Linked DNA regions of Homo sapiens: all the other regions are linked to region 1. The links are contacts of gene promoters, found by promoter capture Hi-C in blood cells and fetal thymus (Javierre and others, 2016). All regions are on one chromosome and are shown on one strand. Each heading gives the region's core, a stretch centred on a gene start or on the middle of the fragment in contact. The rest is flanking DNA. Distances are from core to core; before and after follow the strand shown. Region 1 holds the start of CHD7 (chromodomain helicase DNA binding protein 7). Region 2 has its middle 160 kb from the start of CLVS1. Region 3 has its middle 180 kb from the start of CLVS1. Region 4 has its middle 190 kb from the start of CLVS1. Region 5 has its middle 220 kb from the start of CLVS1. Region 6 has its middle 250 kb from the start of CLVS1. Region 7 has its middle 280 kb from the start of CLVS1.

What was found. Contacts are between HindIII fragments. The CHiCAGO score rates a contact against its expected background, and 5 or more counts as called.
Region 2: a contact is called between a fragment that was not itself captured here and the fragment with the promoter of CHD7 in region 1, in 11 of 17 cell types (activated CD4 T cells, fetal thymus, naive B cells and 8 more). The highest score is 8.6, in activated CD4 T cells.
Region 3: a contact is called between a fragment that was not itself captured here and the fragment with the promoter of CHD7 in region 1, in 15 of 17 cell types (fetal thymus, M2 macrophages, non-activated CD4 T cells and 12 more). The highest score is 12.3, in fetal thymus.
Region 4: a contact is called between a fragment that was not itself captured here and the fragment with the promoter of CHD7 in region 1, in 17 of 17 cell types (activated CD4 T cells, total CD4 T cells, non-activated CD4 T cells and 14 more). The highest score is 54.4, in activated CD4 T cells.
Region 5: a contact is called between a fragment that was not itself captured here and the fragment with the promoter of CHD7 in region 1, in 12 of 17 cell types (non-activated CD4 T cells, naive CD8 T cells, total CD4 T cells and 9 more). The highest score is 14.5, in non-activated CD4 T cells.
Region 6: a contact is called between a fragment that was not itself captured here and the fragment with the promoter of CHD7 in region 1, in 17 of 17 cell types (non-activated CD4 T cells, neutrophils, activated CD4 T cells and 14 more). The highest score is 28.0, in non-activated CD4 T cells.
Region 7: a fragment that was not itself captured here is called in contact with the fragment with the promoter of CHD7 in region 1 in 17 of 17 cell types (naive CD8 T cells, total CD4 T cells, non-activated CD4 T cells and 14 more); the score reaches 49.8 in naive CD8 T cells.

What each region holds. Positions count from the first base shown.
Region 1 is chr8:60,677,178-60,680,916 of GRCh38, reverse strand. It overlaps CHD7 (chromodomain helicase DNA binding protein 7), which reads right to left and starts at 2,177. Exons shown (of 38, transcript NM_017780.4): 1 at 1,835-2,177. RefSeq lists silencers at 700-1,069, 1,730-1,829, 2,190-2,629. The HindIII fragment of the contact is 9,178 bases long and covers 1-3,739 here.
Region 2 is chr8:61,131,088-61,134,826 of GRCh38, reverse strand. It overlaps a transcript of CLVS1 not described here. Among named protein-coding and RNA genes, the nearest start is that of CLVS1, 160 kb to the left of the region's middle. The HindIII fragment of the contact is 233 bases long and covers 1,897-2,129 here.
Region 3 is chr8:61,108,979-61,112,717 of GRCh38, reverse strand. It overlaps a transcript of CLVS1 not described here. Among named protein-coding and RNA genes, the nearest start is that of CLVS1, 180 kb to the left of the region's middle. The HindIII fragment of the contact is 3,973 bases long and covers 1-3,739 here.
Region 4 is chr8:61,092,176-61,095,914 of GRCh38, reverse strand. It overlaps a transcript of CLVS1 not described here. Among named protein-coding and RNA genes, the nearest start is that of CLVS1, 190 kb to the left of the region's middle. The HindIII fragment of the contact is 2,498 bases long and covers 315-2,812 here.
Region 5 is chr8:61,067,233-61,070,971 of GRCh38, reverse strand. It overlaps a transcript of CLVS1 not described here. Among named protein-coding and RNA genes, the nearest start is that of CLVS1, 220 kb to the left of the region's middle. The HindIII fragment of the contact is 1,748 bases long and covers 757-2,504 here.
Region 6 is chr8:61,039,469-61,043,207 of GRCh38, reverse strand. It overlaps a transcript of CLVS1 not described here. Among named protein-coding and RNA genes, the nearest start is that of CLVS1, 250 kb to the left of the region's middle. The HindIII fragment of the contact is 6,210 bases long and covers 1-3,739 here.
Region 7 is chr8:61,004,486-61,008,224 of GRCh38, reverse strand. It overlaps a transcript of CLVS1 not described here. Among named protein-coding and RNA genes, the nearest start is that of CLVS1, 280 kb to the left of the region's middle. RefSeq lists enhancers at 3,421-3,715, 3,732-3,739. The HindIII fragment of the contact is 3,404 bases long and covers 2-3,405 here.

The DNA.
Region 1 (3,739 bases), core at 928-3,427:
AATGTATTCCAGAAATTAAGCCCCCAAAAGGGACACTTTTTAAGATAAGTTATTTAAATCGATTGCTAGATAATATACAATGGGAAACTAAAAAGTATACTTAGCAAGTGGAGCGCTGGATAGTGTATCTAATTCTAGCAATTCAAAAGGAAACTCTCTCCATGTGGGTTGCTACTTTTCTTTTGTCCATTGTCTGTTCAGAAGAGGGGGAAAAAAACTAGTTTAAACCAAGGCGTGAGCAGTCTCTAAAAGTGACCTCCAGGAAAAGAGTCCGACCCATAGCAGGAGCACTCTCCGCGCCGCTCGCTTCACGGGGGCGCTCACAAAGCGGGCGGCCGGCCGGGAGTTTGGGGTGCGCTCCCACGGCTCCGGGCTCCTCGAGGCAGAGCCATCCGGAGAAAGGCGGCTCGGTAATGATGGCTGCTCGGGGCCGGCGGCTCCTTCCCCAGAGCCTCCCGACCAGCGCCCCCACCCCCGCCCGGGAGCCGCCGCCGCCGCCGCCCCCGCCCCCCCCCCCCGCGACCTCGACAGCCCCGCGCCGCCGCGCCCGCCCCGCACCGCAGCCCAGCCGGTGCCCGCGCCCCCGCCCGAGCCCCGCGCCCCCAGCGAGCCCAATCCCCGGTGCGAACCAAACAAACAACGCGTCCCCCACCGCCCTCCTTTCCTCTCCCCGCTGACCGCTTGGCCTCCAGCCACCTCGGCCGTTCACGCTCCAAGCCGCGGCTCTCTGCGAGGGCAGAGCGCACCCGGGTCACCTCGGGGGCCACCTGGTGACCACCCCCCACCGGCGCTGACCCCCGGCGGGTTGGGGGGCGGGGGAGCCGAGTTGCGTTGGAAGGTTAAAGTCGCTATTATGCAGCTGCCGCCGCCGGCGGCCCGGCCAGCTCGACAAGGTGGGGTCCCCTCCTCGCCGCGCCTCCCGGCGCTCGCCCCGGCCCCGCTCCCTTTCTTCTCCTCCTAGCGCACTTGGGAGCCGCCGGGGAGCCCCAGGAGCCCCCAACTCCGGGCTCGCAACTCCGCGCCCGCGACCGGCACTGGCTGAGCTCGGGACGCCTCCCGCGCCGCGTGTTCGCGCTGCCCCCGCCCCACGCGGCGCCCCGCGCACTTTCCCCGCCGCCGACCCACCTCGCTCGGTGGCGGTCCCCGCGCGGGCTGGCGCCGCCGCGCCGGGAGGAACGCACTTTGTTCGCGCCGGTGCGGCCGCAGCTCCCGGCGAGCGCGGCGTGGTCGGTCCGGAGCGGGGGGCGGGGGCGGGAGGCGGGGGTCGCCGCCGTCCCCGAGCCGCCGCCGCCGCTGCTCAGCCGCCCCGCGCCCGCGCGCCCATCGCCCGCTCGCACTTGAGTTGGAGCCCAACTTTTCCTCCTTCCTTTTTCTCTCGAATGGAGCCGGCAACTCGTGCTCGGCGCCGGCGGGAGGAAACGCGCTCGCGCTCCCCCGCGCGCAGACACGCTCCCTCCTGTCCCCCGTACCCCCCCCCCACGCCGGCAGCACAACAAAAAGCCATTTACATGCGAGGAAGTGACCCTCGGCCGCACCGCGCGCCCCCGCCGCCGCCGGCCCGGCGGACGCAGGCAAAAGTTGGGGCGCCGGGCGGCGCTCGGGGCGCGGGTTCGGGCCCCGCGGGCGGCGACGCCGGCGACACTACGCGGGCGGCGCTGCGCTCCTGCGCTGGCCCCGGCCCCCTCCCGCCCTCGCCCCTCGCCCCTCGCCCCGCACACGCCCAACTCCTCGCTCCCAACTCCTAGCGCGGCCCCGGCCCCGGCCCGGAGCGATTTCCTGCCGCCGCCGCCGCCGCCGCCCCTCCCGGGGGCGCCGGGCGAACTCTCGCGCTCACCGGGTCGGTCGGGCTCCTCCGCTGCCTAGTGCCGAGGGGAAAACAAAACGCAGAGCGGGCTCCGGAGTTGGCTCGGCAGCTGCGGCCAGGGGGCTGAATCCACGGGCACGGAGTTGGCCGGGGGCGAACGGGTCTCTGGTGAGTTTCAGGGTGTCCGGGTCCCCGGGCCGCCTCCTCCGCGGCGCTCCTTTGTGTAATTTCACTCGATTCAAGTTTAATCCGATAGTTCCCGAGCACGAGCGCGTCCGCACCACCACGACTCAACCCCCGCGCCGCCGCCGCCGCCGCCGCTGCCGCCGCCGCCGCCGCCGCCGCCGCGGCCCCAGCACGCCAGCGCCTGCGCGCGTCCGGCACGCCGCGCGCACCCGAAGCCGCGGGGCCGCGCGCGCCCGCCGCCAGCTCCCTCCGGGCCGCGCCGCGCCCGCGCCCGCGCCCGCGCGCCGCCACCTGACGTCAGGCGCGCCTGGCATAATTTATGCAAGAATTCGGCCGGGGTGGCGGAGGCCGAGGGAGAGGCCGAGAGAAAAGGGGCGGCGCGGAGCTGCTGGGCCGCGGGCCGCGGGCCGCAAGGGCGGGCCGGGCGCCACTTCCCGTCCCCTGGCGGGCGCCGGCGCTTCAGGCGGGTCTCCCCGCCGGCCGGTGCGCTGCTGCCGCGGAGTCTTCCTTGCCCGGCTGCACGGAGCGCTCGGCCGCTGCGCCCGGGCGCGGACTGGAGGGGCTGCTGCCACGTCTCCCGCGCGGCACCTTCCCGGAGCCGGGTGCGCCGCCCCGGGGCAGGAAGCGGGGCTCCGGGAGGGCTGCGACCCTCCTGGCTGCCGCGAAGGGTTTCCGACGCTGCGCGGCCGGCGGCGGCCGGGGGTGACTGGCAGTCTCTGCAGTAATTATCCTTCAACTTGAAATTATTTTCCCACATGAAATTATTCGGAAGGGACATGTTCCATTCCAGATGGGTTCGTGCCTGCTTCTCCACATCGCTTTTCCCACCTCTTCGTGGATAGGACACCGGATCCACTACTTAATCAAAAAGTTTAACTAGATGGCATTGATTTTGTCGAATTTGTTACCATACCAAAAAAGAGAGAGAAGGCAGAGAGCTCAATGATTATGAAACAAAGAAATAGGATGTATGCCCATTATTAAACGTGTCGGGACTAGAATGTTTTACTCATTCTTTGGCCAAAATGGCACTTGTATCTGATTGCATAGTCTTAAAAATCCGAGCCTCTTATTCCATTTCTCTTCCCGGTACAAAATGAATGTTAAACCTGAAGAAAAAAAACTTTTTTTTACTAATTTTTATTTTAGGAAATAGATCTACAAACATGGATTAAGCCTCTTCTATCTGCAAAATACGGAGCAATTATAATGTGTTTAAACCATCAATTGTAAACTTTAAGATAATTTTATTAGGTTAAAGATTGCACTTATTTTAAAATCAGGAAAGGAACTCATATCAACCAAAGATTGCCCTATGGCAGGTACAGACTGACTGGTTATTACTGGACTCCAAAATAAACTGAGAAAATAGCAAAACTATGTAAAATGTACTAATCTCACTCACTGATGGTTACACTACCTGTAGTGCTAAGCCTGTAATCACAATATTGTTATTTGGACAAAAGATTAATCAAAACTATCTCATTAAGTAACTACTGCAACTATTCAATAAGTTTGATTATCCTAGACTTAATCACTAAGACATTGATTTTCTGATTTTAGTAATAATTCTATAAATATATCACATTATATTGTGGTTTGTTAAATGCACTGCTTTTAGCTTGCTTTCATCATGTATTTGAGTTTTGTTCTAAAAGAAATAAATGTTTTAATGTTTAAGGAGCTTACAGATCATCAAAAAGAACATAGAAGACAGTACAGAAAGAATTCTGGCATTTAAAAAGTTGA
Region 2 (3,739 bases), core at 764-3,263, 450 kb before region 1:
GAATTAAGGTAGCTAATGAAATTAAGGCTGTGCATCAACTAGCCTGAGATGGGGAGATTTTCCTGGATTACCTGGGTGGGCTCAGTGTAACCACAAGGGTCCTTAAATGTGGAAGAGGAGGCAGAAGAGTGAGTGTCAGAATCACTGTGATGGGAGGAAGACTCAATCCTCATTTCTGGCTTTAAAGATGGAGAAGGAGCTGCAAGTGTAGGAATTCAGGCAGCCTCTGGGACTGCAAAAAGGCAAGAGAATGGATTCTCCCCTAGAGCCTCCAGAAAGGCCCTGCTGACTCCCTGTTCCTATGTTCCAATGCAACTTTATAAACACTGACATTTGGATTTCATAAAATTATTACATGACATGAGATATTCTTTTGATTTGTTTTTTAACATTTAGAATTTTAAAAATTATTCTTAGCTCACTGGCCAAACAAAAACAGGTGACGGGTCAGATCTGGCCATTAGGTACAGGCCTGCTGACCCCACCCTAGAGCCACACTCAGCAAGGCCAGATGCTCAGGCTTCGAGGCGCACCTGGCAATTGGGCCCCACTGAGGCACTGGAGGGCGGGGGTCTTCCATCTCATCCTCTGTACTAAGCATGTGCTGAGCAGAGTGGAGTGATCAACACTTTTTAAACTGTCTATTTCTTTCTCTGTGTCTCTCTGTTTGCTGACTGTGTGTCCTTAAATTTGAGTAAATGAATTATGTGAATGACAGGGGGCTCCACTATACACCCAGCTGCCTGCTGGACATCTCCACCTGAACATCTCATAAACATCTCAAATGCACTGGGTCTAAAACTAACTCCATTGAGCTCATTCTCTCTTTCTTTTTCCTCCCAACCTCTCATACCCAACCACTCTCAATCAAAAACAAAAAACCTTCTCCTATATACCTTACCCTGGTTGTTAGCACCACAATTCACTCTGTCACCCAATTTGGAGCTCTAGAGCTATATTTCCCTTTTCTGCCTCATATTTCCCAGGAACCGTGAGATCCTGTTGTGTCCACCTCTTGAGTATATCACAGAAGTGCCCTTGAACTACCCCAGGGCCAGTGCCTTCATCCCAGGCTTCATCACCAAGACTCTTAAGCACAATGACCTCCTAAAACTGACCTTGCAAATCCCAATCTTTCCCCTTCCCAATCCTTCCGATGTGTTTTGGCAGTGTAGCGTCCTCTGGCAGAGATACACAGCTATGACTGCCTTGCTGTCCAACCTCAAGCCCCTCAAGGTGCCGTTTCATTCACAGGATGACTTCTCAGCTCCTCAATGTGACACAAAAGGTCCTTTGATCTGGCCCCTACCTGACTGCCAGCTGCCACTGCTCCCAGCTCACCTCCATAAACAGCCCTAAGGAGCTACTTACAACTTCCATGTGTTATTCCACACAGCCATGCCTTTGTTATGCCACGGCTTCTTCCTGGACTTCCATACCCCTTTGTCATCTTGGCTACTCTATACCCACTCTTCAAGGCCCCACTCAGCCATCATATCTCCTGGGGAGATTTCCCTGCCCTGCCTCCTCTACCCTCCTGTGCAGAATTGACGACCCCCTCGTCTGTGCCCCCTTCCTATCTTTTACAGCTGTCTATTGTGGCCATGTGTTGAACTCCATTGACATTGTTTGCTTTCCCATCTGCCTTCCCTACAGGCTAACTCCTTGAGGGTAATGTCCCCTGGTGTCCCCCACCAGGCAGAGCATCTGGCCCTTGGTTGATGCTTCCCAGATGCATTTCCAGACTTTGCAGTGGAAGCATGCTGGTTGCTATAGGACTCAGGTGCTGGAAGATAGTATTGCTCCAATTCAGAATCTCACTGCTTTTCACCATGAAAAGACTAGAGCTGCTCAGGCCTCCAGGCCAGACCCTGTGAGGCCCACCCCACAAAAGCTTCCTCCCACACCTGGCACAGAGCAGCAATGATGGTACCTCATCCCTTTTAGGGGAAACCAAATGCCCCCTCCACTAATGGCAGGCTGCGTGCATCCTAAGCCACCCCTGTAGTGTTGCTTTACTTACGGGAGTCAGGCATTGTGTCCCAGCAGCGACACTGGGGAACTTCCCCCACTTCATCACTCTGCAGCTCACTGGGCCCTGCATCCCGCTTTTTAGAACATCTGAAGCTTCATGCGGAAGCCTCGTCACTACAGAATCCCAGGAGACAGGCTGTTCTCTAGTAAAACCCAACAAATAGCCCTGAACTGTGCCACACAGAAGGGGAAATGCCATCAGATGCTGACATCTGTGATGGAAAGAAGGACAAAAGACAGGGATTCTCTTTTCTCTTTTATGGAACTGCTTCTTGGGGGCAGGTATCTGACAGACCCTGAAGCCTGCCCCATTCAGCCAGTCTCAGCATTCAGCCACAGTAGAACCTCCTGCCCAAAGCCTCAGCCCGCGTTGTCCCCAGGACTATGTCTCTCCAGCCCCGGGTGCTTTCTGGAAAAGCCTTTCCCGCCAGGCCTGGCATGCACAGCTCCTGTGCCCCCTCATCTCCAGGATTCCCCTGCCGCAACCCCAGCATCGGTTTTCACCACCAGCAGCTGATCCCGGCTCAGCCTGTGGGCTCCCTCCCAAAGAGACCTCAGGCAACAAGACTCGGTCAGTTTAGGGTTGAGCTTAAAGTTAAGGAATCACAGAGCCCTTGGTGCAAGCTCATTTTGCAGGTCCAGCCTCGTTGTTTCTCTGAGCAGGTGCTATTGGCATTTTGTGAGAGGTACCAGCCTTTAAGACTTTTATGTGTGAGTGTCCATGTACCGTGGCTCACTTGGCACCCTTGATGACCTCCCAGGAAGTGCCAGAGGCACCCCACCCAGTCGCTGTGGCAATCCAATGGCCCCTTCCCATACCCACAGGTCTCCTGAGTGTTAGGGGAAGAGCCTCCATTAATAGCCAGCTTCAGGAAATCCCCGAGCACTGAAGTTTATGCAGTTTTCAAAAACACCAGGTCATATTTACTCACCTTTTTCCTGGCTGATAAAAAGTCCGGTCCACGATGAAAATAAATTCCCAGAGCCTTCATTCTCCTCATCTTCCATTCCCTTGATTAGGCCCTTGAATTAAAAAGAAAAAAAAAAGTCTGGATTTTAAAAAACAGCACTCACTTAAATCTTATTACTTGAGTAGCGATGGTTAAAGAAAAAAAAAAAAACTGGCCCCTAGAAAAGGAAGTTCTTTGCATTAAGTAAATGCCCTTTGCTAAGCAATATTTCTTCTCTGCCAGCAACAAAGTTTTGGGGGTCATGTTTTCCTGTGTAATAACCAAGAACAACTTCTCCCAGTTCCCTTTTCTTCCCTACCTTCCAGCCAAAGGCCCGTCCTTCCTCACCTTTCAGTGAGTCACACTCCCACTACACAGACAGAAACGCTCAAACACAATGTACTCCCAGCCCAATATTGTCCCTCAGCCCCAAGCAGTTCATATAATTTGCCAATTGACTCCGCAAACTCTTCATATATGTGCATTAATTTTCACCTGCATAACCACTGCATAATTCGCACCTTCATCACCTTACATCTGACCCACTCCAGTCATCTTTTCTCTGTCTTGAATCCATTCTCCTCATTCCTAAAATGCATATGTGCTCAGGGCAGACATCTTTTGTCTCAAAATCCTTTGTGAATCCATGGTTTCAGTGATAATGTCCTACCCAGGGCATAGGGAAGAGTCTCCCTAGGGGACAATGTTGGCTGGTAAGAGGCTCACATTAGGGTGGTGACCAGCCACTGAGGCTC
Region 3 (3,739 bases), core at 722-3,221, 430 kb before region 1:
TCTCCAGTCTGAGGTTCAATCAAGGCTCCTCCTCTCAGACCTTTTAGAATCTATCTTACTGATCTCTGCTCTACATCTACTGGAATAGTGAGGCAACAAGTACCTTACTTCTAATCTCTTATAAAAATACATATCCAGTATTCACTTACAGGCTTTAATTGGCTAATTATTTCAAATCTTTAAGGAAAAAGTAATCTCGCTGCCTATTGAATTATTCCAAACTTGTAAAAATGTGGAAAGTTTCACAATTATCTGATCAACATAGCAGAGCTCTGATACAAAATCTTAGAAATGCTGAAAAGGAGAGAAAATGATAGGCCAATAGAAATGGCCTCATCTACAGTAGAAATACATGAAATTTTACATTAAATGTCAGCAAATTTAATGTAGCGTACATTAGTGAGACTAATACACCATGATCAAGTAGGCCTTATTCTATAACTTTACATATGGTCAGAGGAAAATAATATGAACCTCTCTCTCTCTCTGTCTCTGTGCGTGTGTGTGTGTGTGTGTGTGTGTGTGTGTGTGTGTGTGTAGCACGGAGAACTTTAAAATAATAACAGCGATTATGATAGGTGGTGGGAATGCAGATCATGCTTATTTCTTTTGCTTCCCTGCAACAGTCATTTGAAATAAAAGATCTTATTCACAACTTTAGTTAACTATTCATATTCCTTTGTTTAGCAAACAAAAATTAAATACTTAGGGGATATTCAACAAGAATTCTACAGTACCGATTTGAAAAAAACTTTGCTGAAGTTTACTAAAAGAAGATTATTAAAAGAAGACTGTGAATTGGAGAGATCTTCTGGAAAAATTAAATGCCAATTTTCTGCAAAACTCTATAAATTTAATACAACTTCAATTAAAATTTCAATGAAATATTTTAAAATCTATAAAAATGATGAACTTTTTGATAGAAGGACTATATAATAGCCAATTTTTTTAAAGAAGGGTAATAAAGAAAGCCTTGTTCTCCTATATTCAAAATATGTTTTAAAGCCACAGAAATTTAAACAGTATACTAATAGCAGAGAGCTAGGCAGAAAGATTTACAGAACAGAAGACCAGAAAGAGGCCCACATTTAAACAAATATGTGATAGAGATAGCATCCCAACCAATATGGAAATGATCCATAAATATAGATGGAACTACTTGCTAACTAAAATAAGTTTCAATTGAATTAAAGTTTAAATGTGAAAGATTAAATCACAAATTGATGCTGATTTCAGTTTCCTTTCCATTCCCAATTATTTTGTCCCAAATCTGAAGGATAATTTAGCATGTCAGCCTGTACCAAAAGTACAAACCAAGAAGATACCAAAGAAAATATTGACTCATCATTTTGGGAAAATGACACCCTTCTCTTCCTCCTTTTGGAGGAAGAAGACCATCTTGTTTTTGCAATCAACTGTCATTTAAAAGGGGACTCATAATCTGATAAAATAGTTTGATTTTTTATGTTTGTGAATTTTCTAATATTTTGCACAGTGAAAGCCGTATATCAATATCTGAAAACACTCTCTTAAGCGTCATTGCATTTTTTCAGGAATTCCTACTTTTTTCAGGAATCCCTACTGTATTCCACTACTGCAAACAGTATGAAGGTTCCTCAAAAAATTAAACATTTAGTTACCATACGATCCAGCAATCCAATCTCTGGGTATATACACAAAAAATGAGAAAGTGGATCTTAAAGAGATAGTTGCATACCATATTCATAGCAACATTATCCACAATAGCCAAGAAGTAGAAACAACCCAAATATCCATCACCAGATGTATAGGTATACAAAATGTGGTCTACACATGCAAGGTAATATTATTCCATCTTAAAAAGGAAGGAAATTCTGACTACAACATGGATGAACATTGAGGACATTATGGTAAGTGAAATAAGCCAGTCACGAAAAGACTAATACTGTATGATTCTAGTTATGTGAGATAATTCAAGTAGTCAAATTTCTCGAGACAGAAGGTAGAGTGGTGGTTGCCAGGGGGTAGGGGAGGCAGGAAATGGAGATCTGTAGTTTAGTGGGTACAGAGTGTCAGTTTTGCAAGGTGAAAAAGTTCTACACTAGACTTTGGTTGCACAACAGTGTGAATATACTTACTACTGATCTGTACATTCAGAAGTGGTTAAGATGGTACATTTTATGTTGCATAGTTTTTACCACAATTAAATTAAAAAACTTTTTTTTTTAAATCCCACTTTTTAAAAGATCTTCACAATGTCTTAATCATAGGAAAGGGGGAAAATCCACATTCATGGATTGCTGCCTTAGACTAGGTTTCAATCTAAGACAAAACTGGAGATGAGGATTCCATGGAATAATTGAGGAAGCCGTCTCAAAAAGGAAGAGAGGGAAGGGAGAGAGCAAGGGAAGAATTCTGGCAGGATGTGGTCTTGTCTGGAGTCTAGCTACAGCCTGGGTTGTCAGGGCAGCTCCCTAACAGCACACAGAATTTACCCCTACTTGAGAAAAGGCAGCCAATGTTTTCTGCACCTGCCAGGCAGTCAGGGTTACAGGCCGACCCCACTGGTGGTGGGAGGGGGATTAATTTCCCAAGTGAGACAGCTCCGATTCAGCCAAGGCCTCAATAGAAGGGGGCAACCGTGCACCATTAGCAGCCAACGCTCAGGGCAGCTGGGAGTCAGCGCACAGGCCCAGAGGAGGGGATGAAGTGAGGCTAATGTCTTAGTCTGTTTTCTGTTTCATAAACTACCTGGCACTGGGTAATTTATAAGAAATGAAATTTATTTCTTACAGTCCTGGAGCCTAGGAAGTCCAAGGTTGATGGGGCGCATCTTCTTGCTGGTGGGGATTGTCTGTGGAGTCCTGGGGCAGTGCAGGGCATCTCACAGTGAGGGAGCTGAGAGTGCTAACGTACTATCTCAGGCCTCTCCTCCTCTTCTTATAAAACCACCAGTTCCTCTCCCATGATAAACCATTAATCCCTTAACCCGTAATCCATTAATCCATGAATAGATTCATTCATTCATGAAGGCAGAGCCCTCATGATCCAATCGCCTCTTCAGAGCCCCACCTCTCAACACTGACCCTTTGGGGATTAAGTTTCTACCTGAGTTTTGGAGGGCACATGCAAACCATAGCAGCTACAGTTGCCATTTGAACTGAATTTGAACTTCAGATGACCAACAAATAATTTTTTAGTATAAATATGCCCAAAGCAATATTTATACTGAAGTATTTAAATTTATAAATATTTATGTTATTATATATTCTATTGTGTAATATATTTGGTTATATTTATGTATTGTATTATAGCTAAAAAGCATTTGTCCTTCATCTGAAATTCTGATTTAACCGGGTGTGCTGGATTTTTAGGTGCTAAATTTGGTGACCCTAAGTGGGACCTCAACACCATCTGCTCCAACAGTTCACAGGTGCCAGGGCCTTTGATGGAAATTACTTCATTTAGACTTTGGAACAACTGTTTAAGAGTAATATTTTCCTTACATTGCAAATGAAAAAAAAAGGAAGTGCACACAGAAGTAACTGGAAGAAGCAGAATGTGGATACGAGTATGACCCCAACCCCAGCCAGAATGCATAGCAGCCTCTACAAGCCCCTCCAAATGGAACCCCTCAAATCCCTCTCCCCGATCACACCAGCTCCTCAGCCAGCATTTAGTCAAGTGTGAGAAACTCCAAGTAGAAAATTATATATGTGAATCCCAACGGGGATGGGAAAAATCCCTCCTCACCCCTTTC
Region 4 (3,739 bases), core at 314-2,813, 420 kb before region 1:
TTTAGGAAGAAATTGATGAAGAAGTAGCTAATGCTATGAACTGTATCTGCAGCTGAAATCAGGAAACTGGGCTGATGTTGCTTTTTCATGAACTACATAAAAAAAGATATCTGACTAACAGGATAAACGTCTTAAGGCATTAAAAATAAAAATCCCAGCGTGCCTTGAAACACCAAACATCCTGATCCCTATGCTTGGGGTCTTTGTTTTGATGTGTTGATGTGAAACCCTACCATAGACCAGAAAACAGAGTGAGAGCAAGTCTTCTGGAAAACTCTAAATACATAGTTGTGTAAGATCCTCTCGGGCAAGCTTTCTCAACCAGTAGATCAGGATCAACCAGTAGGTCGCTGGCCTACCTGGGGTTGGCCAAGAAGGGCTGCAGGCACCCTTCCCGCTCAGCTGGGTTTCCATGGGACACTGCCTACCCAGCACCTCCTAGGCGCGCCCTGTGTGGACTTTCCTGCCCCAGTCCCTCACCTCTCACCCATGGTCTCAACGTTTGGAAAAATAAGAAATGCTCCACTTCTTTGAGAGACTGCCAGCCCTGCCCCTGCTCTGGGGTCAGAAAGCCCCACTCATGGGGGATTTCCAAACCTTATTGTTTGTTTGATTTCCTGAAACCTACCTCCTGCCCCTAAAAAACCAAGAGCTATTTTGCATAGTTGGTTTTTCTTCTTTAATTGAAGAAAAATTGACTAAGTTTTGTTTTGAAAAATTCACAGCTCACCTAGAGATAACTAGGTAGGGCGAGTTCAGTTCTCAGAGTGGCTTCTTTCAAAATTTGGCAGTAAATATGTTATGAATATGAAAGGAGATAGAGACTTAATCAGTATTTAAAAACACATCCTTCCCAAATATTAACTAATGCCTAAATATATTACTAAATGCTAAATATTACAAAGTATTAACTAATGGCTAAATATACATAACAAAGAATAATCATGGGGTTTACATTGAAAACATAGCTTCTATAGTCAGGTTGCCCAAGGGTGTAGCTTGGGAAAGTTACTGTGTTAGTCTGCTAGGGCTGCCAAGACCAAGCACCACTGATCGGGTGGGTAAGAACAGGAGTTTATTTCCTCACAGTTCTGGAGGCTGGAAGTCCAAGATCAAGGTGTCAGCAGGTTTCATTTATCTGAGGCCTCTCTCCTTGGCTTGGAGATGAATGTTTTTTTCCTGTGCCCTCAGCAGAACTTCCCTTGGTTTGTGTGTCTGTGTCCTAATCTACAAGGACGCCAGTCAAGTTGGATAAGAGCTCACTCATACAACTTCATTTTTACCTTGATTACCTCCTTAAAGACTGTCTTTAAATACAGTCACACTCTAAGGTACTGGGGTTTGGGCTTCAACGTGTGAATTTGGTGAGGGAGACACAATTCAGTACATAACAGTTACCCAACCTCATGAGCCACAATTTGCCTCATGCATAAAAAGGAGAAGATAATATTAATAGCCTTGGAGTTTTTCTAAGGATAAACTGATACAATGTCACGAAGCATTCAGAACTGTATAGAGCTCAGGGATTCCTAGCTGTGGTCTTCATCATCATCAATGAGGCAGCATTCAGAGGACAGTACACATGAGCACCCCCAGCGTCAGTGCCCCGAGTCCTTGCATTAGAACCATAGTGGTGGGAGGACAGGCAAGAGAAATAAGAGAGATGAAAACATGATTTCCACACCCACCTCCCGCTTCCCAAGCACTGGTATCTCAGAGCAGGAATTGCTGGGGCCACAGGCGAGTCCAGCAGAAGAGAGTCCATTCACAGGTCTGACTTCAAAAACTTGAATCAAACTTGGGCTCAGAATAAAGGGAAGAAAAGAGAGATGCATTTTCCTCTCCTCAAACAAGCGCCTGGCTGTGCACAGTGAGCCCGAGGCTCACGGAGCTGGTGATGGGGCAGAGAATAAGCCAGGCCAAATGACCGAAAACCCCATGGCTCCCAGGCACATTGTCTGGGATGAAGTTTTAAATTCAGACCTCTGCTGGCAGAGACAAAGACTGGCCTGTCTGTCCCTGCTTCTCCAGGGAAAACAGCACAGCCATTAACCCAGTCACCATAGTAGTTGTGACACCTGATGCTGGCATTGCAGCGAGCTGCTGAAAAAGCATAGCTAAGGTAGCTGAAGAGAGCTGGACGCACACATAAATGCAGTGATTTCTTGCTGGGGGGAGGGGTCCAAGAAAAAGCAGCTAAGCATGTGTGTTCCAGAAAGAAAAGTCAACGAAGATCAGCTTAGTGCCTCACTATTTTCCCCTTCACCAAGCCTTTTCACTAGTGCTTGCTTTTAATTTATGACATGCAGCACTAAAGGGACTGTCTATAGATTTAACACTGACATTTCCTTCATGCAGTAATCCTCTGAATCCCATTTGCTGTAAATTTCTGCAGAATGACAGGAAAATGACTTTTGGGGTTTTTTTGTAAGCACATTATAATGAGCAATCTTTTTCCAGCATTTGGGAAAAACCTGAATGACCCACACAGTTTTTGGACCCCCACACTCACCTCACTTGGCCTGAGTCCAGGAAGAATTCTATAGCCATAGAGGCTGCATTACAAATTGTTGCACTAGCCATTGTTATGAAAAGTGCTTAAGGAGAATGGCTCTAATCATATGATTTTTCCCACACAAACAACTCAAGGTATATAGGGGACACAGTTTTGTGTGGCTTGGTATGTCTATTTTGATTGAGTCAGTCCTTTTTCCATTATATTGGTATACATCATAAAGATGTATATAGCTGTCATATACACAGTAAGGTATAAGCAGAAGAAAATTTATTCCCTACCACCTAATAACAAGCTTTTGAGAATACACAAGAAGAAAGAAAAGGAAAGGAGTCAGATGTTTTAGAACCAGGAGTTTACCTACTGAGCCCTTCCCATTTTGCGGTGAGGAGCTAAGGTGCTTCTTTCTTTCCTCCCCCATGTTGTCTGGGATGTGTCTCGTCCTTGCACTGCTCTATCCATGGCCATAATCCCTGCCGTGGCCCAGTTTCCAATCCCAGTGATACCACTTGGGAAGCAGAATAATGGCCTCCCAATATGTTCAAGTCCTAGTCCCTGAAAACTGTGAATATGTTATGACACATGGGAAAGGGGAATTAAGATTGCAGATGGAATTAGGGTCACTCATTGGCTGATGTCAAAATAGGAAACATCATCATGGATTATTCAGGTAATCGCAAAGGTCTTTAAATGTAGAAGAGGAGTCAGAAGAATCCGTCTCTGAGTGATGTGATATGAAGCACATTTAACCTGTGAATCCTGGCCCTGGAAATGGAGAAGGGGCCATGAGCCAAGGCAACCTCTCAAGGCTGGAAAAGGAAAGAAAACAGATTATCTCCTAAAGCTTCCAGAGAAGAAGGAAACTTTGCAAACACCTAGATTTTAGCCCAGGGAGACCCATTTTGGACTTCTGATCTCCAGAGCTATAAGACAGTAAATTTGTGTTGTTATAAGCCACTGCGTTTATGGTGACTTTACAGCAGCGGGAGATGATGAACGCTCCACCTCTTCCTATGAGGCTTCAAGCACTGAGTGTGGAAGCAGAGTCCTGCTGTTGCCAATCTGTAGAAGTCTCCCCACTGTCCTTGATTGCCTACAGGTTGTCCATCACATGTATAACCTACATGCCTGGTTTCCTGACTGCACTGTTACTGATACAGGGACATAAACACCAACTGGTAATTAATGGAAAAAGTTCAAATGCAAAGGGGAAAAAAGCTAACT
Region 5 (3,739 bases), core at 381-2,880, 390 kb before region 1:
GGGCAAGAGAGAAGAGGGTGCACCTACAGAAACTGTCTACATAGATCAAAGAGGAAGGACCCCAACCAGAGAACACTGTTTGAGACTCATAGGTGCTCCTTCAAGTCTCTATTTCTTTTTTATGTTAGAGACACAGGGTCTCACTCTGTCACCCAGGATGGGGTGCAGTAGTGGTGCAATCATGGCTCACTGTAGCCTTGATCTCCTGGGCTCAAGCAACCCTCCCACCTCAGCCTCCTGAGTAACTGGGACTACAGGTGTACACCACTGTGCCTGGATAATTTTTTAATTTTGTGTAGAGATGGGGTCTCCCAATGTTCCCCAGCCTAATTTTGAATTCCTGGGCTCAAGTGATCCTCCTGCCTTGGCCTCCCAGAGTACTGGGATTACAGGCATGAGCCACCACACCCTGCCAGGCCTCTGAATTGAGGAGCATTTCCTCACGTCAGCAAGAAGAGGGGTGGAAGATGGGAAAACAATAGGAAATTCTTGAAGACTTGAGGCAATGTGCTGCTTTATTGAAAAATGTCATCAAAATGCTGGTTGCCCTTAGGAACAGTATTGGCAATAAAACAAAAAGGATAACTTTCATAAAATCACAATATAATCCTCCTCGGAATCATGACTGTAGCCCAGCAAGCAAGCCTCAATGGTGGGCCAATGTTCTAGAAGGCCCTGAGGATAAAGCTAAAATAAGAGGAGTGCATGTGATATGAGAGACGCACACAAAACACAGAAAATATCCCATAGGAAGCTTGCAGAGATAGGAAAGTAAGCCATAGGCAGAAGGCAGAACCCTGAGGACAGGGCCTCAGGGGCAGGCAGAACACGAGGCAGCCAAGGGGAGATAAAAGGAGCCATTCAAGAAAAACCTGGAGAGGCCAGGCACTGTGGCTCACGCCTGGAATCCCAGCACTTTTGGAGGCCGAGGCGGGTGGATCACAGGAAGTCAGGAGTTTGAGACCAACGTGGCCAACATGGCAAAACCCTGTCTCTACTAAAAATACAAAAATTAGCCAGGCATGGTGGTGCATGCCTGCAGCTACTTGAGAGGCTGAGGCACGAGAATCACTTGAGGAGAATCACCCGGGAGGCAGAGGCTATAGTAAGCCAAGATCGCGCCACTGCACTCCAGCATGGGAGATAGAGCGAGACTCTGTCTCAAAAAATAAATAAATAAAATAAAATAAAAAGAAAGAAAAAAAGGAAAGCCTCAAGAATGTGGTGGGGAAGTCAGAGGACTTGCAAGAGCAACACTGGCAGAAGGAACAGATAAGGATGGGGCAGATGTTGACAGTGGTAATGAGGGTATAGTGTTGGGAGCAGAACTGAGAACAGTAAGTGAACTAGGTGAGAGGAAGCAGAAACACAAGGCAAGGTGCATGAGATGCAGAGGAAGACACAAGCCCAGCCACAGGGTCAAGATGTCTCAAGCACTGATGTGTCCTATCTGCTATAAGATGCACCAAAGAAAGTGTGACTGCTGATAAATACTCAAGTATGCAAATAATTTACTTTCAAAAGGAAGGAAGGGAAAACAGAGGAAGGAAGGAAGGAAGGAAGAGAGAGAGAAAGAAGGAAAGGAAAAAGTAGAAAGATTTAGTGTCGCTCTTACTGATGTGATTTCTCAAAATGTTGGAAAGCGAGGAAGTCGGAGCTGGTGCACTGGGAATGGCCTATGACCTACATTGTAAAAAGAATTCTGGCTGGGCGCGGTGGCTCATGCCTGTAATCCCAGCACTTTGGGAGGCTGAGGCAGGTGGATCACTTGAGGTCAGGAGTTCGAGAGCAGGCTGACCAACATGGTGAAAGCCAGTCTCTACTAAAAAATTACAAAATTAGCCAAGCATGATGGTGCGCACCTATAATTCCAACTACTTGGGAGGCTGAGGCAGGAGAATCACTTGAACTTGGAAGGCGGAAGTTGCAGTGAGCCGAGATCGTGCCACTGCACTCCAGCCTGGACAACAAGAATGAAACTCCATCTAAAAAAAAAAGAATTCCTCAGTCTGCACTGTGGAAGAGGGACAAATGGAAATGCAAGACAGAGTCTCAGGCTGGAGTAGAAATCTAGAAAAGGAACATTAGTGGGAGACCCTTCCTAGGCAGAGGGGGCATCGGTAGGAAGAGAAGGAACAATTCGAGAGACCCCGGGAGGTGTGTGTGTGGGGAGCAGATGAAGGAAGGGGCACAGGACAAGAGGATGCAAACCCTGGGAGAGCCAGAAAGTGTGGCAAGGAGGCCACCTTATCTCCCCTGGCTGGAGGCCTGGCTTGCAGCAGGGACATGGGTGTAGGTAAATTGTAGAAGACTGGGAAATTACCAGAAAGCACACTGATGACCTCAGCATCCCCAATGACTCATGAGATGAGGGTATCTGCTGAGAATGAGGGGAGCAGGAATTGAGAATGGGTCTTGAGAGGAGTCGGGGGAGGCTATAAATATCTCCTAATTCATCAGCCCTAAGGGGTAGGTATGTGACTCTTCTGAACACCCTGCAAGCTTGAGGGCCACCAGTTAGAGGTTCCTACGCACCCAGCACAGTGCCAGCTGCTGTGTGTGTCTCTCCTTCTTGAGGAGATATGATTAGTGGGCCTAACTCACACAGCTCTCCCGCCCTGGAGTCTTAGCCATAGTGAAACTGTGTTAAGGCCTTGAAGAAGCTGTTGATTCTGAAGTGGTAGCTTTTTGATATGTGTATGTGTATGTATGTATATATATACATATATATATATATATATACACATACATACATATATATATATATATATACATATACACATATATATTCTTTTAATTGGAGACAGAGTCTCGCTCTGTCACCCAGGCTGGAGTGCAGTGGTGCAATCAGGGCTCAGTGCAGCCTCGATCTTCTGGGGTCAAGTAATCTTCCCGCATCAGCCTCCCTAGGAGCTAGCCACCACACCTGCTAATTTTTTTTAAAATTTTTTATAGAGACAAGGTCTCTCTCTCTCTCTCTCTCAATATCAAGTTTCGTTTTAGATTTAGGGGGTACATGTGCAGGTTTGTTCCCTGGGTATATGTGTGATGCTGAGGTTTGGGGTATGGTTGATCCCATCACCCAGGTAGTGAACATAGTACCCAATAGTTGGTTTTACAGCCCTTGACCCCCACTTTCCCTCCCCCTTCTAGTAGTCCCCAGTGTTTATTGCTGCTATCTTTATGTCTATAAGTACCCAAAGTTTAGCTTCCACTTATAAGGGAGAACATGTAGTATTTGGTTTTCTGTTCCTGTATTAATTCACTTAGGATATGGTCTCTCTATGTTGTCCAGGCTGGCCTTGAACTCCTGGCCTCAGGCAATCCTCCCACCTTGGCCTCCCAAAGCACTGGGATTAAAGGCATGAGCCTCTGTGCCAGGACCTGAAGTGTTAGCTTTTTAAAAAATAGTTTGAACTATTGTGGATTTTTTGCTTGTGCTCTCATAGCTATGGCTCGTACTTATAATTATATATTATTAATATATCATTATAATAATGATCATTATAATAATATATCAACTAATAATATATAATATATCCTTATAAGTATATATACTCACATATATAATTATATAATACAATTATATATGTACACACACATTATATATACACCCACATATATAATTTAGCAACCATTTATTTAATATATATTTGTCGAGCACACTCCATGTGCCAAGAACTACGTCAGAGACTGAAGAGACAAAAGTAGATGAAGTGTCTGCCATTATGGAATTAAC
Region 6 (3,739 bases), core at 443-2,942, 360 kb before region 1:
ATGTTCTTACCTAGTATGTATTCAGGAATTTGGGAAGTGACCATCTGTTGGTCTGCGGACCTGGGAGACCCACCATCTCATGATGGCTCAGGGCCATGGCTCCATTGATTACTTGCCCCATAAAGCCCTCCTCTAACAGGGACATGATGATGGTGCTTTGGGTTGGGAGGAATCAACATCAACTCAGACCTATAACCAACAGCTTTTGAACAAGCTGGACATAACCTATTCCCAAGGGTTACCCAAGTAAACACCCATATGTGCCTTTAAAGGAGAACTGAGGAATTCCTACAGTATACATTTGCCTCAGTGTTGCAGAATCCTTCCTTACTGGGACTTGACCCTCAACTAATGGGCTCCACGTCTGAGAACTGGTTCATGTTTGGAATTTAGGCAACAGATCATGAGTTTCCACTGGGACCTTCCCTTCTATTCTCTTCTTCATTCTTGTTCCCTTCCAATGCCATATTTATAAAGTAATAACCTATAATGGCTGCTATAGCTGTAAGGATGAAAAAGATACAGTCCCTGACCTCCTGAAAATTTTTTCTGCCACCTTGTTATGATCTGAATGTTTCTATCTCCCCAGAATTCATATGATGAAATCCCCCAATGTGATAGTATTGGGAGGTGGGCAATAACAGAGTGAAAAGACACTGTCTACTAACCAAAGAGTGGGCCCTCACCAGATACCAAATCTGCCTTGTTCTTGAACTTCCCAGGCTCCAAAATTGTGAGAAACAAATTTCACATACATTGTTTATAAGCCACCTAGTTCCTGATAATTTGTTTTCACGGCCTGAATGGACTAAGAAGGTCTTCTCCTGATGACTTCCTCTTAACGTCACAGGCTGAAATACAAGAATATGAAGATAGAGAATATTGTGGATTCTCAGGGGCTAACATATTTGAAAGCAAAATTGACAACAATAATAATGGTTAATATTGAGGAATTACCATGTATTCTAAATGCTTTACCCAAATTATTTTATTTAATCCTCATGACCTTATGAGAGAGTTCTCCTCATTTTGTGGATGAGAAAACTCATTCTTAGAGAAGTGGCCAAAGTTTGAATTGCCTCCTTAAGGTTATTTATGACCAAAAAAATTAGGAAGCAATCAACAGCAAGAAAGGGATTCAAGCTGGTTGGAGCTTTGACCAGAGGAGGTCCAAGTTAACAAAACTCTTAATTTGCAGAGTACCCATCAAGAAATTTTTTTTCTCGTATAATTCAATGACAGGGGGTTCAAAACTCAAGAGATTAAGTTTCCGCAGCCCAGTATGGATGACAGAGTCAGACCTTCTCTCAAAAAACAAAAAACAGGAAGTCCTATCCAGGCAAGAGAAAGAAATACAAGGTATCCAAATAGAAAAAGAAGTCAAATCATCTCTCTTCACTAATGATATGATTCTCTACCTAGAAAACCCTAAAGACTCTGCCAAAATGCTCCTAGACCTGATAAATGACTTCAGTAAAGTGTCAGGATACAAAATCAATGCACAAAAATGGGCAGCATTTCTAATATATGTGCTGCCGAAGCGAGCACAGAGTAGCATTTATATACACTGATAACATTCAAGCAGAGAGCCAAATCAGGAATGCAATCCCACTTACAATAGCCACACACAAAAATAAAATATCCAGGAATACAGCTAACCAAGGAGGTAAAAGATCTCTACAAGAACTACAAAACACTGCTGAAAGAAATCAGCGATGACATAAACAAATGGGAAAACATTCCATGATCATGGATTGGAAGAATTAATATTATTAAAATGGTCATACTGCTCAAAACAATGTATAGATTCAACATTATTCCTATCAAGATACTAACACCATTTTTCACAGTATTAGAAAAGAAACTATTCTAATATTCATTTGGAACCAAAAAAAAAGCCTGAATAACCAAGGCAATCCTAAGCAACATAGCTGGAGGCATTACATTGTCTGACTTGAAATTATACTATAAGGCTACAATAACCAAAACAGCATGGTACTGGTACAAAAACAGACATATAGACCAATGGAACAAAACAGATAACCCAGAAATAAAGTAATACACCTACACCAAATGATCTTTAACAAAGTTGACAAAAATATGCAATAAGAAAAGGACTCCATATTCAATAAATAGTGCTGAGATAGCTGGCTAGCCATATGCAAAAGAATGAAACTGAACCCCTACCTTTCACCATATACAAAAATTAACTCAAGATGGATTAAAGATTTAAATTTAAGACCTCAAATTACAAAACCCATAGAAAAAAAAAACTAGGAAATACCATTCTGGAAGTCAGCTTTGGCAAAGAATTTATGACCAAGTCCTCAAGAGCAATTGCAACAACAAAAAATATTGACAAGTGGGACTTAATTAAACTAAACAGCTTTTGCACGGTGAAAGAAACTATCAACAGAGTAAGCAGATAACCCAGAGAATGGGAGAAAATATTTTCAAACTCTGCATGCAACAAAGGTCTAATATCCACAATCTGTGTGGAACTCAAAACAACTCAACAAGATAACCCCACTGAAAAGTAAGCAAAGGACATGAACCAACACTTCTCAAAAGAAGACATACAAGAGGCCAACAAACATATGAAAAAAATGCTCATCATCACTAATTGTCAGAGAAATGCAAATCAAAGCCACAATGAGATACCATCTCACACCAGTCAGAATGGCTATTACTAAAATGATAAAAAATAACAGAGGCTGGCAATACTGCAAAGAAAAGGAAAATGCTTATAACACTGTTTGTGCAGATGTAAATTAGTTCAGCCACTGTGGAAAGCAGTTTGGAGATTTCTCAAAGAACTAAAAACAGAACTACCATTCAACCCAGTAATCCCATTACTGGGTATATGCCCAAAGGAAAATAAATTGTTCTACACATGCATGAATATGTTCATCACAGCACTATTCACAATTGCAAAGATATGCAATCAATCCAGGTGCACATCAATGGTGAACTGAATAAAGAAAACGTGGTACATATACACTATGGAATACTATGCAGACATTAAAAAGAATGAAATTATGTCCTTTGCAGAAATATGGATGTAGCTGGAGGTCATGATGCTAAGCAAATCAATGTAGGAATGGAAAACCAAGTACTGCATGTTCTCACTTATAAGTGGGAGCTAAACATTGGGTACATATGGACACAAAAAGGGGACCAGCTGACACTGAGGACTACTAGAAGGAGTGAGGCGGAGAGGGTCAAGGGCTGAAAAACCACCTATCCGATATTATGTTCATTACCTGAGTGATGGGATCATTTGTACCCGAAACCTCAGGATCATGCAATATGCTCATGTAACAAACCTGTACATGTACCCCCTGAATCTAAAATAAAAGTCAAAATTAGGCTGGGCTCAGTGGTTCATGCCTGTAATCTCAGTACTTTGGGAGGCCCAGGTGAGAGGATGGCTTCAGCCCAGGAATTCAAAATCAGCCTGGGCAACATAGGGGGACCCTGTCTCCACAAAAAATAAAAAATTAGACAGGCGTGGTGGTGCATGCCTGTGGTTCCAGCTACTCAGGAGGCTGAGGCAGGAGGATCACTTGAGCAGGAGGTGGAGGCTGCAGTGAGCTGTGATCACGCCGCTGCACTCCAGCCTGGGTGACAGACCAAGACCCTGCCTCTGAAAAAAAAAAGTTCAAATTATTAAAAAGAAAAAAAGAAATTAAGTCACTTGATTCAACAATTAACCGGTGGAAACCCTTGCCATGTACTG
Region 7 (3,739 bases), core at 454-2,953, 330 kb before region 1:
TTAAATGTGGAGGACTGTAACAAAGTAATTGCGCGTTCAGGGATGATGGCAAAACAGTGACTGTGTTTGAGTAGATGACGATCTGCGTCCTGCGCATCCAAGTTGCCCTACTAATAAATGGCCCATTCCTCCTCTTTCTTCCTTGGAATTCTTCCCACTGACCCATCAACTAAGCACATATTCCCTCCTTCAAGATTTCCTTCGTTCCTGGGCAGGAGTCCCTGTGCTTGGAATCCTGCCCCATCCCATCCCGTCAAGCTGTCTCCTGCAATCATTCTTGCAGCTCCTGAAATCCTGCTTCCTCCACAAAGCCCTCCCCAGCTGAGAGCAAAGTGATTTTCCTCCAGCTTCCCACCTGTTCCGAGCGCATGGCCCTGCCACACTGCTCCTTCCCTCCCCCTTCCGTTGTCTGTACCCAGGGGCGGTGCGCTTAACGACGTCCTGTCCACTAAATGGCCACTGTGTCCTGCACGTCCTTTTCTGTGCCGGTTTGTGTCCACAGTGGCAGGTGCCCGTGTTTATAAATGTGCTTTGCTTCTATCAGCAATGCGGGAGTAGCGTGGTGGCTGCTTGCGTTCTCAGGAGATGACCTTACAGAGCATCACCAAGTTCAAAGTTCCATGGCTTGGTAAACCAGGCTTGCATTTAGGGTCAGGTTGGCTCTCTGGGAGACTTACTGGAATCTTTCTATGCCTGTCTCAGGTTTCCTTAGGATAAAGTGATGCTGATTTAACTGGCAAAATCTGAAAACTAAACTAACGATAGTGACTTTAGTGCAACCAAGAACTTGACTTTTTAAGTGGTTAAAAATACTACAAATAGCCAAATCTAAATATTAGAATCCACCCTCCCACAATTCTATTTTCCTCTTCCATGGTTCAGTAACACTTCAATTGAACTGAATTCCACAGCATTAGCAATCTGGTATCTGCTACTATAAAACATCTTCACTTGCTAAAATAGATGAAAAGTTTTCTTTTAAATCCTTTGTCCGATCTCATATCTAAACACGACTAAAATTAATTTCACACTATTTTCACCTTTGGGGAAAATGCTTGCTTTTACAGCCTTCTCCTAATGTCAAAACAAAAGTTTCCTTTTACTTCTCAGAATCTCAAGATCCTTTTCTGATAAAGAGAAAAACAAATGCGCTGGAATTAAGTCCTGCATTATACATTACTGAATCAAACCAGGAACTTCAGCTTCCAGGAACTGGTAGTGCTAATGTTAACAGGCAGCATGAAACAGAAGAATGCAGGAATCACCCAATTTTCTCACTCACTTATTTCACCTTTGTTTCCTAAAGTGTTGTATAGATATTTGAAAGCCATATTTTGAATCCTTTACAGTTTAAGGTGAGATACAAAGGCATTTTTTACATTATTATATATAATTACATTCTGTAGTTAGCAGCACTACAGAAGGGCAAAGGATTTTCCCTCCTCCTCTGTCAGGGAACAAGAGAAACAGAGCAGGCTCAGGCTTCAAACCTGTGGTCCTTGTGAGTGATGTTTTTCTGTTTTATATAGACACCGACAAAAATATCCCAAGGAGTCCAAACGGTGATATACAATCAATTATAGATGCTAGAAAATGGAAGCACATTGCACGTTAGCATTTCTGCCTTCTAATAAAGCAGTGGGGATGGGATGCCCTTCTTCATCTGTCTGCTCAGGATCATTTGTTTCTTCACACCCACTGTGTCGTGGGTCACCTGCCCAGGACCGCAGCAGACAGACGGTAAAGGCAGGTGAGTGGCCGCTGACTGCTGAACCCTGCTTCCCTCCTCCTCGGGCCATCTGATCTGGTCCAGCGGCATCCTTGAGAGTAAGAAGAGATGAGGAATGGTTCTCCTTTCAATGGCAAGGAGAGGCCAGGAGAAACTACAGGTCCTAGTCTCTGCAGAACCATCAAGGGCTCCCTCCCTCCCACACCAAGCAGACAATACCTTTCCCAAATCCAGAAGATCAGCAATAATTGATTTGGCTTCTGGCCATTACCCTTCTGATGCAAAAGCAACAGCACAGTTCACTAGCTCTTTCCGATTTGTCCCTTCCCTCCCTTCAAGTGACTCCTCACATCTGATTAAAATCGGTAATGTGCTAGTCCTGGAGAGAAGAGGCGCTATTTATTTCTGTCAAGTTCTGCTTGGAAGGTTTGAGGCTTCCTCCTACCAGACATTTCACTAGTAAACAGAAAAGTCACCCATATTGTCATGCTTGCCCTGACCTGCAAGCTAGTGAACAATAAATCTTAATTATAGTTAAATGCCAAAATCTGCAAAGAATGAGGCAGCACTAGTCAACTGTGAATTGGTCCGACTCCCCCGCCTCGGCTGGGGTGCAGCTGCAGGAATACATAAATTAGTTTGTGATTTGTTTGTGCCGGAACAATCAGTCGAGGCTGTTTCTTGAGAGCATTTCCAGTATCAGTGGGCACACTGGCATTCATCCTATTGCCATGTCAGATGCAGGTGGCATCTGGGAAGTTTTATTTTAAAGGACTTTCAGCATTATGCTCGGGTTAATAAGAAAGCGCTATTTTTAAATATCTCGGCAGTTTTCCAAAGTAGCGCTCAGCCTCCTGACATCTGCTCCGTCCATACTTGTTACCTTTGGGTTTATTCGGAGAAGCGTTGAATAACCTTTTTGTTAGCAATCTCCTTTTTGCACCGTGCAGGGCCACTGGAGTTGGAGGCAGGCGTCCATGTGGGGGCTTTTTTTTCTTTTCTTTTCTTTTTTCCCTGCTGCTGTAAAGCTCATGTGCTCCTTGGTATTCAAGCATTTGCTTGTCATAATGCTAAAAAAAAAAGCCACCCTGTTGTTCCCTTGAATGCTAAAAAAAAAAAGCCACCCTGTTGTTCCCTTGCCTGGGTCCCCTTGACGTATTCGCACCCATATGAGAGAATGAGAAAGGTGATTGCTGACATAACTCTGTTTAATGGCTTCAGGCTGTTCTATCAATTTTGAGACTGACAGGAGTTCGGAGATGAAACTTGGAAGGATGGAGTTTGGGCTGCTCCATGCTGGATCCCATGAATCAATCCGCAATCTACTCATGTTATTTTAGATGCAGATCCTGTTGTCACTGGGAGTCAGTCATCTGCAAGATGCCCCTATCGGGCAGTTTTCTAAATAATAAGGCTGGCATGGATTCCCAGCTTCTGGACTCAGCAGAGTGCAATGACAGACATTGGGATGAAATGGCATTTCATTAATTACCAGGTGGATGTGTATATCGGTAAGAAGGAGGGTTTTGTTTTGTTTTGTCTTGTTTTGTTTTAAACAAAAAACAAACAAACAAAAAACACCTTTCCCGACAGATATGGGAGATGGGAGTTGGGGAGGGGGTTACAAAATAGGCAGCTTTCTGATGTCCTTTTTAAGAAAAATGAAAGGGGAAGCTTTATTTGGTACTTGAATGGCAGGTAACCCTCACCGCGGGGCCCAGGCAGAGGCCTCCCTTCCTGCCCCAGGGTGCGTTACGGGTGCATCCCAGCTCCCCCGCAGCCCTGCTGCCGGCTCCTCCAGGCCCGCGCAGGCCCCACCCTGTCGCCAGCTTCCTGTTTGTGTCGCTGCTTTGTTGCTTCCTGGCGGTCACTCTGAGCCTGCCCTTCTGCAGAGCCTCCATCCTGGGGACTGGCTCTCTTTCCAGCTCTCTCTTGTGCTAGCAAATCTGTCTGTGCCACAGTCTAAACCTTACATTTTTAAAGACCAGGCCTGGTCCTGGAGTCTGAACT